4 separate regions of the Homo sapiens genome follow, and regions 1, 3 and 4 are each linked to region 2. Evidence: promoter capture Hi-C in 16 types of primary human blood cells and fetal thymus (Javierre and others, 2016). All regions are on one chromosome and are shown on one strand. The core of a region is centred on a gene start or on the middle of the fragment in contact, and the rest is flanking DNA. Distances in the headings are between cores, read along the strand shown. Region 1 overlaps PTPRK (protein tyrosine phosphatase receptor type K). Region 2 holds the start of PTPRK (protein tyrosine phosphatase receptor type K). Region 3 has its middle 54 kb from the start of THEMIS. Region 4 overlaps PTPRK (protein tyrosine phosphatase receptor type K).

Region 1 (3,246 bases), core at 598-3,097, 530 kb before region 2:
AAGTATAATGGCTATGTCCCTCTGTGTTTTCTAATATTGTATATTTTCATTGTACCTCATTTAGAATTAATAGTGGTTTAATTACTTTATTGATCTTTTCAATAAACAAGCTTTTTCTTTTTTCTCATTTGTTTCTTTTTTATATTTAATTTTTCCTTTGTTCTATTCTACTTTTTCTGATTTTCCAATGTTATAATTTTTCACATGATTTCAGAGCACATTTCAAAACAGAAATCACTTATGAGTATAAATTTTTCTTACAGAATAATGAGGTAAATTTTGATGTAAAACTATTGATCTATATAATATAATTTTAGTTTTGAGGAAATCATTCAAGGATTATTCAGAAGAGGATTTGGTGACTTCTAATAGGCTAATTTCTGGGGTCACTGGTCAGCAGTTTGTCATCATTGCTTTCTATTGGATTTTGGCAATATCTCAACTTTTTGTTATGTATTCAGGTTTTCCTTATTACTAAGTTCATCATTGATTTTTACAAGACTTGTATGAACTTAAGAGACTGCATATTCCACATTTCTTTTTTAATAATATGAGCTAGTTATTCATTAAATCAAGCTTAATGGTTCTTTCTGAAATCTCCCATATCAATTGCTTATTTTATTCTACTTGATTTGTCTAAGAAATTTTCATACATATTTTACAGTTACAATAATCATGATTATGTTGTTCTGTATAATGCTATTTCAACTTAATATTTTGCCTAATTTTTTCATGTTGGTAGGATAACTCACAAGTATTTTTATAAAATACTATGCAATTATTTCTCTATTGTTGGGCATTTATGGTTATCTATAAGTTTTTAATACTATAAATGAAGTCATTGTATTTTAAATAAATTCCTTAGGAGAGATTCATGAAAGTTAACTTCTCAAAGGACATAAACATTTTAAAGCTCTGGAGATATACTGTTTTATTGATTTAAAGAAGGTTTGTAGCGATTTAACTATGATCAGTAATGTATAAAAATATGTTTCAACATACTCTAACAATCAATGAGGATTATTCTTTTTTAAAGTTCTTGCTGATTTGGAAGGACAAAATGGTATATAAGTACACTAGGTTAAACATTTTTAATAGGCTTGTTAACAATTGTGTTTCTTCAGAGATTCTAGTTTTTTTTTTTTTCTTCTACTGGTATTAACATTATAAATTAAGGACATTAATAAACAATCGCAAGGTTCTTCTGTCTGTATGTACCTTTGATATTTTTTTGTGCCACAGGTAATTTCACAATTTTGTGTGGTCAAATCTACCAAGCTTTACCACAAAATGTATTTCACTGTTACTATATTTCACTTTAGTCTACTACACCAGCCACCTTACGTTATTCTTTGCAATGTAACACTTGGAGTGATCCTTTTAGAAATAAAATTCAGACCATGTTATCCCTGAGCTCACAAACCCTACAATGGCAGCCTAACTCAATTTTAGTATGAACTAAAATCATCATGGCCTACAAGGCACCACTTATCCAATTTTGTGATTTCTCTGCCTTCATTTTGTATTTCTTTCCCCTTCACTTATGGATATCTGCACATCTTGGCCTGGTGACTGTCTGGCATTCTAACAGCTTTACACATGCCTCTAGGCTTCTGAAATGACTCTCCCCTCTGTCAGAAACATTATTGCCCTGGACATAACCCGTCACTCCCTCACTTATTTCAGGTCTCTACTCATATTACTTTCTCAACAATGAGTTTTTCTTTGATCATCCTTTCAGAATTGTAAACCATTTCTTACCCTGCCTAAATAATATTCCCTACTTCCTTCCCCAACATTATTTTTCTCTATATCACTTGTCATGATGTATGATATATTAGTTGATTTATTTATTTTTATTGCTGTCTTAATTCAATCGGCTCTAAGATCCACACGAGGCGATTTTAACATGTGTCCCAAGGTTTAGAAACATGTCTGGCACATAGTAAACTCTCAAATAAACATTTGTGGAATGAATACATGAATGAATGGATTTTATAGCATCATCAAAACAGAACTTGGCAAAGATTTTAAGAGAAAAAGCAGTTTTGATATCACTTTTTAAAATAGAATTTTAGAGTACTTACCCTTTCCAGGGTGAATGTCCTAACTACATATTCAGCAAGTGGTTCCATTTCTACACACGTTACTTTGAAGTCACCATAAACTTCAGTATCATCAGGCCAATATTTATAGCATTTAACCTAAGTGACAAAAAGAATATATAGACAGACCTGAATATATAATACTAATTAGCCAAGGTGATTTAATTCCAGCAATAACTCCTTGTCACAATTAAAACTCAGTTTAAAAATCTATAAATGAGAAAAAAATCTATTATACAATAAACAGAGTTTATATAGTCTCACAAAAAATATACAAGCCTGATAATGCAGTTAGATTCCAGTACAAAATTAAAGCTTATTTTATTACTCAATGAGAAATCAAATAATTTTTCAGCCAGTCAAGGTCTACTTAGAAGTACTCAACTAAAATGTTGTGCCTATAATTTTTTTTAAACAATTGGATGATATTCTATTTTGAGTGTCTTACATGTTGCTTCTCAACTATGTTCATTTTTATGACAAAAAAATTCTTTTTCTTCCTCTTACCCGGCCAACCTCAACTAAATTTGTAACCATCACAATGCAAGCAGATTGTTCTTGCCAAATCATCCTCCAGAAATCATACACTGTTTCATGAACGGGACCTACAAAGAAATTAATTTGAATATTATGTTATCAAAGGAATTTTGTAGTTAGTAAGAAGTTTAGCTAAGATAAGAAGCAGAGTAAACTAAGTAATTCCAAAAAAGGTCTAACACAAAATGTCACTGAAAATACTTAAATTCAGTTCATATCTAAATTCCCACAATAGGCAAAAACACAGGCATATACAAGTTTTTTTTTTTTTTTTTTCAATTTGCCCTCTACACTTCCCAATTTAGAAGAAACTATCACTAGTTTCTTGGGTATTTATATTTGTCACTAAGTCACTTTAATGCATCTTCAAATATGTGTAAAAAATAGAACTCTTATACCACCATCAACCAGACAGCATATATTACCAATTAAATAAGTGCCCACTATTTATAAATAGTGCATGTTTAGGGATCAATAAAAACATATCCTTACACGTAAGGACATATCCTAATCTTATCATAATATCTCCAAACTGCAAAAGCATGTGCTGGGCTGTTCTCTACCGAATACCATAAAACTGAATATTGTTCACCACTATGGTCGA
Region 2 (3,341 bases), core at 134-2,633:
TCCACCTGGTGAAACTTCAGAGCCCCCAGAGGAGAGAACGAAAGAAGCAACCAACCTACACGAAGGATAACAAAACTGGAGGGGAACAGAGGGCGGGACCGGGAGAGCCAGGGTTCACGGACTTCTCTGAGCGGCTTGACCGAGAACCCCCAGGGCTACAGCGAGACGCTCCACTTGTCTCCTTTTGGGTTCTCCGGCAGAAGGCAGACATTTACAGTCCGCTTCCAGCCCCAGGCCGGATCCGGGGAGCGCGGGGCCAGAGCCCCAGGCCGGATCCGGGGAGCGCGGGGCCAGCCTGGCGGTGGTTTTGCCCGAGGAGCGGGCTCCCACGCGCGAGTCAGGCTTCCTCCACCAGGCGCCCAGACCTCGATGCCCATGAACGCTCAGAGTGGGTCCTTAGAACCGCATTTCAACACATCTTACAGGGCTCCGCCAACACACACACAGAACATGCTCCAAGCAGTGCCCGAGCGCACAGGGCAAGCCCGGGAGCAACCCAGAGCTGGGGGAGGAGAAAAGGGGACTCCGGGAGGGACGGGGAAGTAGTTAGACAATAGTCAGGGGAGGTTATTCCCGGGACAAAAAGCACCTGGCAAAGCGCGCCGAGGTCAGTCCCTTCGAATCTCCACATTTCTGACAATGGCTTCCCAGGGAATTTGTTTAAACACCCAAGTGGCAGACAGCAACAAACCCGCACCACAAGCAACAGAGTGCCGTCACGGGAGTCGTAACTACTTTTTCTTTCTCTCTTCCCCACTAGCCCGGCGCAGGCCACGCGAGACGCCGAAGCCAGCAGGTCCCCACACTCTCCGGCTAGACCGTGCCAGCCTGAGCCCCGAGCAAGCTTCGGAGAGGAACAATGGGTGCCCCGCGTCCCACCTGGCACGAACTCTGGGGACAGCCCTCCCTCTACCCTGTGTTCCCCACCCCCGGACAGAGAGAGCTCCCCACGATCCTTGTCCCCAGCCCTAGCGGGGACCTGGCTCACCCCTCGTGAGCCCAGGACTCCAGGCGTTCGTCGGGGACGCCCCCCGGCCACTCACCTGCGGAGAACTGGCCTTGGGCCGATCCCAGGAGAGGCCAAGGAGAGAGGAGCAAGAGCGCCACAAAAGCAGGCAGCGCCGCCGCCGCAGTCGTATCCATGCCGAGTTTGGGAGAAGTTTCAAGCAGCTTTGCAAAGAGCTGCCGGGGGGATCGCCGCGAAATCCACGACGGAGGAGCGGGCCGGGCCTCGCGGGGTGAGGACGGTGAGAGGACAGCCGCCCGCCCGCCCTTTTTCCTTCTTCGCGGTCGCCAAACTACCTCAGGGGCGAAAGCGTCGCCAGCGTCGCCGGCCGGCCGCGGCGGCAGCTCTCCATGCTCGGCGGAGGCTGCTCCTGTTAGTCAAGAGTTACTTTGCTCGGGGAGGGACGGGGGCGGAGCCGGGGGTGACGTCGCCCCGCGGGCTCCGGGCGCTTCTGAGGAATGCGGGCTCGGGCGCGGCGCCGCCACCGCCTCCTGCCGGAGAGACGCGCGCCAGCCCCGGCCGCGCGCCCCGCGCCGCCTTTGTTCGCAGCCTGGGCCCCGCCGCCAGCCGCTGCTCGGAGGGAGCGAGCGAGAAAGGGGAGCCGGCGCAGCTCGCTGCCCTGTTCCAGAACTCAGAATTTGAGAGGCGAGAGTTCGGTAAGCCGTGCGACCAGACGACCGAGGACGCGCGCAGAGAAACCCCCGCCGTCCGAGGAGAGGCGTCCTGGGGTTCCGTCCCAAGGTGGAGGTCCCCCCGAGCGGTTGCTGATTGAAAGGGGAGTGTGGAAGCGCCCTGAGGAAACACCCGCCTGCCTTGAAAACTCCCCGTTCCTTATTCTTGTAATAAGGAATAAGACACCCCACCCCCATCGAAAACTTGTCCCTTATTCATAGAATAAATAAAACTTGAACCAGAATAAACGATCAGTAACTTTCCAGCGTGAACAGCTGGCGTGTCTCCTTTCTGGTTTATTTGTCATTGGCCAAGTATTTGGATTTACTCTGCTTCACTGACTTTGCTTGTTGCTCTGAAACCCTCCGGCCCCTTTCCAGTTCTCACCTAAGAACTGCATCAGGGCTTATTATCCCTTCCTTGCACCTAGGTCTGGTGTGTGTGTGGTTTTGTTTTTTTTAATATCTAGTAGGTAGTTAAGACATAAGTATTTAACAAAAGGACTTTTACACTGACCATGAAAACAGCTTCTTCGGAATGATTCATCTGGCAGAAAATAATGCTATATTATGACAGTAAAATATTTCACAGTTAACTACTTCAGCAGCTTGAAGTGGTTTCGCCATATGCCACCCTGCCTTACTTCTGTGGTAAGACTGTATGGTGCATACTTTATTCATTTTTGTAAAATGTCACAAAAAATAGGTATGGTCACAATTGAATAACATAATAACTTTGATTCAGAATTTTTATGTGTTATGTACAATTGCTAAAACAATAGTCTGTTGATTGACATCTCTCAGTTTCTCAGACATCTTAGCCTTTGTAAATCAAGACAATGTGAAATTCATTTTAATATAACATTCACATAATTTACCAAGCCACATATTCTTTTAATCAAATATATGCTATTAATGACCAGACTTATGACAGAGCCTGTGGAAACAAAAATGTAATAAATATACACACAAATATATACATATATAAATACATATTATACACACATACATATCAGGCAGAAAAGACTTTTAAAAATTCTATGAGAATAGTAGCCTGCTCATTAGCACACTGACTAGCTCAACCCTTGTCAATTCAGTTCAGCATAGTTAAGTTCATCCTTCCTTAGGGTGCAATGTAGATTTTTTTTTTTTAACTCATTAACCTATACCTTTCAACACACCATCACCATTCCATTTCTTTAATTAGAGAACATTCCTAGATCCCAGGTAACAAAAAACTGAGGGACATATTTTTCTTTTTGAGGACAGCAGAACTTCCTAAAATTTAGCAGCAATTTTTCCCAGTAAAAACAAACAAAACCCTACTGTCTGTATACTAATTCATCTGTTCTACTCTTGTAAGAAATGTAAAAGAAGTTCATGACGTGGTAATTTGTTTGTTTAAACACACAAACAAAAAACTTCTTTAAATATTTTCACACAGTGCCAGGACAAAGTGCACACAATTCTTACCTTGCCCATTTTGGGGGACAGCTGATAGAAGATTCATTTCATGAAACTTTATTAATTTCTCTATCATGGAAGTAATAATAATAGCAGGTAATGTTTAGAAAGTTCTTCAAATGTTCTAGGCACTGTCTTAGAGTATACAATGTCACACTGAGACATCAAGATTTTCAGTGTTTCATTGAGTTCAGTCAACA
Region 3 (3,483 bases), core at 90-2,589, 570 kb before region 2:
TCTTACACGCCGTAGGAGATTACTACCTTCTGCTTCTTTTCTTCCTTCTAAATCTCTTGCAAACCTCTCTCATTACCAGAATCTAATCTGCTGGTAAGCATTTTAGGCAATGTAGTTCGGCAGCTTCTAGAACAAGTTTGACAAACATTTCTATAAAAAGCCAGATAGTCAATATTTTAGGCTTTAGCTATTGTAGTATAGATTGCACCCACACTAACATTTGAGTTTTGGATAATGATTACACATTACAAACTCCTAGTTTTCATTTGATTCTTCCCCAAAACCTTTTTTTTTTCTTTCTTTTTTTTTTTGAGCTGAGGCCTTTCTCTGTTGCCCAGGCTGGAGTGCAGTGGCATGATCTCGGCTCACTGCAACCTCCACCTCCCAGGTTCAAGCAATTCTCCTGTCTCAGCCTCCCGAGTAGCTGGGATTACAAGTGCCTGCAACCATGTCCGGCTAATTTTTTGTGTTTTTAGTAGAGACGGGGTTTCACCATGTTGGCCAGACTGGTCTTGAACTCCTGACCTCAGACAATCCACCCACTTTGGCCTCCCAAAGTACTGGGATTACAGGTATGAGCCACTGCGCCTGGCCCCGCTAAACCATTTTAAAATGTAAAAATTATTAATTTGTGATCAGGACAAACAGGTGGCAGGTTAGATTTGGCCCATAGGCAGTTGTTTGCCAACCCTTTGTCTAGACCCTGCAAAACAAGAAGGGTCTTGTACCTAACTAACAAAACTACAATTGTTTTATCATCTCAATGGTATCATAGATGTGAGTTCAGGAAGAGGAGGTGAAGAGCAGGAGCAGATGCTAGAGGATTCTGAGCCACCACTCCTGAAATATACTTGTGGTTTCTTCACATTTTCAAATTCAGTCTTATATTCATATGTATAAGTTACATTTAATCACGAAAAACGGCTGCACACATCCCACTTCGTAATTCTATGGGTCAGATAGCACTCAGTTCTTAATGGTAGCTCCATACCTATATCGCTGGTGTTCCATACCACCATCATCTGCTTCTTTTCCACCAGGGCCAAGAAACAAACTAAAAGCAGCCTTACCAATGGAGGATAGTAGTTTGAAGAAGAGGAATTAGCCTTACTCTAAAACCTCAGCGGTCTGGTGATGTCATTGTTGCTGGCAACAGATTTTATCCCTTTCTGCCACAAATACTTCAAGTACAATTCACTTTGCTGGGTCACAGGTCTAAGTGATGGGTCAGCTTGCACAGAAGCCTGGACCTGCTGCATAACCCCACCTTGCTCTAAATATCCCTTGGAACAGGTAGCTGTATAGGTTACCTGGTGGTTGGGCCAGAGTAGTATATCCAAATATGGAATTTGTCGCGTCCCAGTTTCAATGAGACATACTGAATGCTAGAGCTCTTTCTTTTGTGGACTGTGCAAAGTGAGACAACTTGTTTCTAATTTGAAAAGGAATATTCTGCCATTTTCACAGCATTGTCACACTAGAAACTTCATATGATCACAAGTCTATGAACTTTCACATGGTTTGTCTCCCTTCCTTGGTCATGTGTTTGTCTTCCTAAGGCATCAGGTTGTTAGTTTCTTCCTGATGACATGGTAAAATTAATATGCTCCAACATGGCATTCTACTGGGTGTCAAGATAATCAAGCTCCCTCTAGACCAGGAAGCAGCTATTCAAAGTACGTGCCTGCAACAGTGAGGTAAGGAGCTTCCACCAGAAAATAAATCAATGCACTACTCCTTCATCAAAAAAGTCTTTCTAAGAAAAAAATTGTCAGCTGAGCCAAACGGTGTGCTTAGTGGTATAGTTCACATTCTGGTGCAAACTTCCTAATTCATTGGGGATAAATAAGAAACATGGACCAGAAACCAGTTCACAGATGACACTTTGAGGATCACTGCTCTAGTCTAGACCTCAACATGACAGAGATCAGATATTGTCTTGATAAAAGACAGCAAAGTTGTACTGCTGACCCTCTGGGCAAAGGTGAGGTGTTACAGGTTATAGTTACTGATGGAAACTAAAAAGAAAGCATTTGCTAGGTCAGTAGGTTCATATTGCATGCCAGAAGCTGATGTGTTTTAGTAAAGGTACCAGCCATTTCTTGCCTCAGATTTCCAGGTTTCAATTTCCCCAGGGCAAAAAGTCTGTCTATGCAACTCATCAAATATATAAGTGACTCAACTCCATATACGATTTGATGAACTGTGTTTTAGGGGAACTTCTGGAACCAATTACAGTATAAGTCAAGAGTTCAGCAGGAAATTGATGGCATACTCAAATAGTTAATTGAGGGATTTTTGTTGTTGTTGTTGTTGTTGAAAAGACTATTTACAGTAGTACCAATAAGGGTTGGTAAAGCACCCAAGAAGTAACAAAGCTATAAGTTATCATCCCTGGGCCTGAATGGAGACAAGAATAAAGCAGTGTTACTGGAACCTGGAGGGCTGAAGTTATGGGGCAAATGGCTCCCTCCCAGGACATTGATAGAGGAATTGCAGCCATTATAAAAAATGTGGACCAGTATGGGGAATGTACCACCTCCCTTTCCTCCCACCAGCTGGTCTTTTGTTGGTGCCTTGCCTTGGCCAAACCAACTCTAAGGCAGAAAGCAAGGGACCCCGGGTGATGCAGATTCAAGAAGTTAGCCTCCCATAACAGAGAGCCAAGTAGAGAAGGGCAGAGACTGATGCTTAAGAGGCAAATAGAGAATAACATTCATTCATACATAAGAGAAAGTTTTGATAAAACAGGTTATATCTCCACAATCAAATATCATACAGTAATTTTTAAAATGAACTAGATTTCCAATGTAAATAAATCTCAAAAACATATTAAGAGAAAAACAGTAAGCAGCAGCAGGGTACCCACAGTCTAACATTTACATAACATTTAAAATCCAGTAAAACCATATTTTATGGATATATAAATATGGAGGAAAAAGATGTTCTTGCAGCTGGGAATGCAGTTCTGTATACATTAGTGTTATGGGTTGAATATATCTGAAAATATCCCCATTCTACCCTCACAACTTGAATAATTTGGCTGGGTGTGTTTTATATTGCTGTATGTTGTGGGTTGGGCTGTGTCCTCCAAAAATATATGTTGTCTGAATCCTCAGCACCTTAGAAGGTGACCTTATTTGGAAACAGAGTCATTCCATATACTACTAGTTAAGTTAAAACGAGGTGATACTATGTATGACATATCACTGTGCAGTATGACTAATATCATAAGAGGAGAAGAGACATTGGGAGAACAGCATGTGAAGATGGGGGCAGAGATTGGAGTGATGTGGCTACAAGCCAGGAATGCCAAGGATTGGAAGCTAGGAAGAGGCAAGGAAAGATTCTCCCCCTACAGGTTTCAGAGGGAAAATGGCCTTGCCAATACCTTGATTTCAAACTTCTAGCCTCTAAGAACTGAAAAAATAAATTTCTGTTGTTTTAAGCCACCCAGTCCGCAATACATTGTAATGGCAGTGC
Region 4 (3,236 bases), core at 687-3,186, 510 kb before region 2:
AGTAATAAAATTCATAGAGTTTGAAGTTAAACTAAATCCAGTATCAATCTTGATGAGAATCCTTCTTGTAAATTCCATAATATTCTCCATCTCTTTCTCTTCTTTCTAGCTGCTTCTCCCCTCACTTTCCTACTCTCTCTCATTACTCAAAAGGTATCGTGTAGAATTCAAAGTGAAATGAGTTGTAACATCATTTATTAAAATTTTAATGAAAAACTTACATCTTGGACTAAAGTTATGTTGGTCCATGAAGGTGATGGAAAGAGGATCTTCTGCATGCAGAGTGCTCTGATCAGCATAACTTCGATCCATTGCATTCACCATGTGAGTCATCTCCTGCCGGGTATTCCCCATGGCATCTTTGCGTTTTTTAGCAAGTTTGCTGCCAAGGCAAATACAAAAGGGCATCCTTAGTGTTTGAGGCTTGCAGGAGAGTTAACACCAGCAATAAATAGTCCAGGTGAGCCCGAGGATAATGTTACAAACATGGTTTAGAAACCCCAAGCACTGGTCACAATTTCAGGAATTAAGTTTGACATTCAAACAATTATATTTGCTCCTTGCTATAAAAGTATTTTGTCAGATGCATATTTCAATATTCAAGCTGTCAATCCAAATCTCTCATCATTTCCTGTTCTCTTAAATATCATAAAATATAATTATATTTATTAAAAGCAAAATAAATACCTCCTTACTAGAGTAATTCAATAAATATTCAAGCTAAAGCCAAGTTTTGATACTCCTGGGTAATTAATTCTTTTGATCAACTTTTAGTTCCTTTTAGAAATAACATGACTAACTTTTCAAGTCTGTTTTACTGTAGCCACCAAATTAAAACAGACATTTACCAGATGAGTGAAGTGCCATATTGCTAAGATAAGGTACAGGTTTAACTTTAGTAAATAAATTATGTTTTTGGCTCTAGACTAAAGCTACTTATGGAAATTATAACTAAATTAAAAGTAGCTGGACATACAGAAATACAATATCCCTTTTTAAAAAGATTGGCAAAATAGGTGATAGATAAAGTTTATAGTTTTAGAGTCTGAAAAAACTTTTTTTTTGAAATGTCACCAAAATTGCAAGCATTCTGTTTTGTTTTTGAAAAGGGATACTGCATCCTTAACACACGTAAAGTTGTACATCACCCATTTTCTACTTACAGGTAGTAGGAGTAAGAATAGTAGCTCCTCCTGGCAAGCAAATCACAGACAGTGGAAAAAGAGAAGCAATGGTGAATGAAAAGCGTGACTCTGTCACATTCAATAAAGCAGAAAAATGTGCGTTAAAAAATAAAATAAAATAAAATAAAATTCATGTTTTTTTTGCTTTGCATTTCAATTTGCTCATGCATTGTTAGTTTTTTTTGCCATGCAATTAAACAGACAGATATGCAATATAAAAATAAAATTTAAAATACATAATTTGGAAAAAATAACATGCTGGTATTTCTTATTGCCAAAATATTGAAAAATTAAATGGATTGTGTATTTTCAACATGCAGTTAAGCATAATATCATCCATTATCTAAATATGACAGATGGAACAGCTGTGCATAGAACTTGTGTACTATATAGATTATTTTTCTTTAGATACAAAACATAAAGATCTATTATGTTAATATATCATATATACAGAATAACACCTAAATTTCTACAAACAAGTTATTATATCTTAATGGTACATAGGTATATACATATGTTATGTGAATATACATATATACCATATACTATATATACACAGATACTTCTACAGTAGATGCATGTGAACATGATATCATACACAAACATTTACTGTATTGAAACATAATTTCAAATTTATGTTTGAGTTATTAATGTGTTCATGCTGTGCATGTAAAATATAATACACAACCAATGAAAAAATGGCATACATTTGGAAATAATTGAATAGCGATTAAATTAAAAAATGACATTGCGTTTTGAAAGATGCAATATCCCTTTTCTTAGCCTAAAAACTTACTTTATACATATCCTTAGCTGTAAAACTTTACTCAATTGAATTATACACCATTCTTTTGCAAAACAACCAAAAAGACATGGAACTGTTTTCCGCATAAGAAATATATCTACATGTATTCATCCCAGTGAGGGATAAAATCAAACTTAACAATTTCCCACTAAAATGTAGATAAGAGGCTAAAGTAATTTCCTTTTCCATTATTTTTATTATAAATTTATATATTAAAAGGGAAACATTTTATATTAATAGTTTTAAGCTATACTTGATGATAATATCCAATGCAATGCTGCTATATCTATACTTTTTTATATGTATGATAAACATACTTGTGATTAAAGCATACATGGTACATGTGTGACACGCTACATATGAGTAAAAGTCATTACAAAATTGCTTTGGTAAGTAAGAAATTCAAGTAATGTAGATATAAATACTATATATTAGAAGGTAACATATCTAAATAATGAAACCTGGTCTATCTTTAAAAGTGCAGCTTTTCCTGGGTATAAAGGTGATGGTGAGGAACAGAAGCAAAAGCCCTAGCATACTTTCTATCAAAAGACAATCAAAGCATAATTATGAAAGCTCAAATGTTAAATATTTTAATAGAGAGGCTCATTAACTTAACCATTTAATATATGAACCAGAAAATCAAGTTGTCATATTACACAATTTTAGAGAGCTGTCAGAGCATTTTACCTTCCCCCAAAATCTTGCTTAGTGATGGTTTTAGCATACTTTAGGAGGTTAATTTTTCAATTTTTTCATTATTGCTAAATCAGAGGCCTGGATAGGGAGAGTTATCAAGACAAATGAATGTTTTCAAATAAATAACAAATAAAACTGAATAGTTTAGCCCAATTCTAGCTGAATGAGGATATAATCAGAAGCCACTTTCATGTTTACATCCAATCTGAAGTGACCAGAACATTGTGAAGCAATGTTTAGTTAACTTTACTCTCTAAATTGTTTACTTAAGTCTCCAAATACAAATTTAAACTAAACAGAGACATAAGGTCTGAAGGTTACATTTGGTGATTTTTATTGATCTTTACTGGCAAATTTTTATTGCTAAAATACTTAAAACTTTTGCCTCACATATGATGTATTTTCCAACCACAGAGGGAGACAACAGCAAGAGAAAGCACTATTTGGGGAAAGCACGTATGTAGCTAATTTAACACAAAACACTATAATGCATACCTAATGTTTCTAATGCAGATGTGTCTTCTCCAACATATATATCTCCAGGGGAT

What was found. The method cuts DNA at HindIII sites, captures the fragments that hold promoters and counts their contacts. A CHiCAGO score of 5 or more calls a contact.
Region 1: a contact is called between a fragment that was not itself captured here and the fragment with the promoter of PTPRK in region 2, in 1 of 17 cell types (fetal thymus). The highest score is 6.3, in fetal thymus.
Region 3: a fragment that was not itself captured here is called in contact with the fragment with the promoter of PTPRK in region 2 in 1 of 17 cell types (fetal thymus); the score reaches 7.6 in fetal thymus.
Region 4: a fragment that was not itself captured here is called in contact with the fragment with the promoter of PTPRK in region 2 in 1 of 17 cell types (fetal thymus); the score reaches 6.9 in fetal thymus.

The regions. Positions count from the first base shown.
Region 1 is chr6:127,988,682-127,991,927 of GRCh38, forward strand. PTPRK (protein tyrosine phosphatase receptor type K) reads right to left here. Exons shown (of 30, transcript NM_002844.4): 20 at 2,613-2,710; 21 at 2,088-2,204. Among named protein-coding and RNA genes, the nearest start is that of PTPRK-AS1, 38 kb to the right of the region's middle. The HindIII fragment of the contact is 1,142 bases long and covers 1,277-2,418 here.
Region 2 is chr6:128,519,216-128,522,556 of GRCh38, forward strand. It overlaps PTPRK (protein tyrosine phosphatase receptor type K), which reads right to left and starts at 1,384. Exons shown (of 30, transcript NM_002844.4): 1 at 1,044-1,384. The coding sequence starts at 1,143. RefSeq lists enhancers at 558-1,151, 1,152-1,746. The HindIII fragment of the contact is 3,706 bases long and covers 843-3,341 here.
Region 3 is chr6:127,953,104-127,956,586 of GRCh38, forward strand. No RefSeq gene overlaps it. Among named protein-coding and RNA genes, the nearest start is that of THEMIS, 54 kb to the left of the region's middle. The HindIII fragment of the contact is 7,407 bases long and covers 1-3,483 here.
Region 4 is chr6:128,004,863-128,008,098 of GRCh38, forward strand. PTPRK (protein tyrosine phosphatase receptor type K) reads right to left here. Exons shown (of 30, transcript NM_002844.4): 15 at 222-382. Among named protein-coding and RNA genes, the nearest start is that of PTPRK-AS1, 21 kb to the right of the region's middle. The HindIII fragment of the contact is 8,842 bases long and covers 1-3,236 here.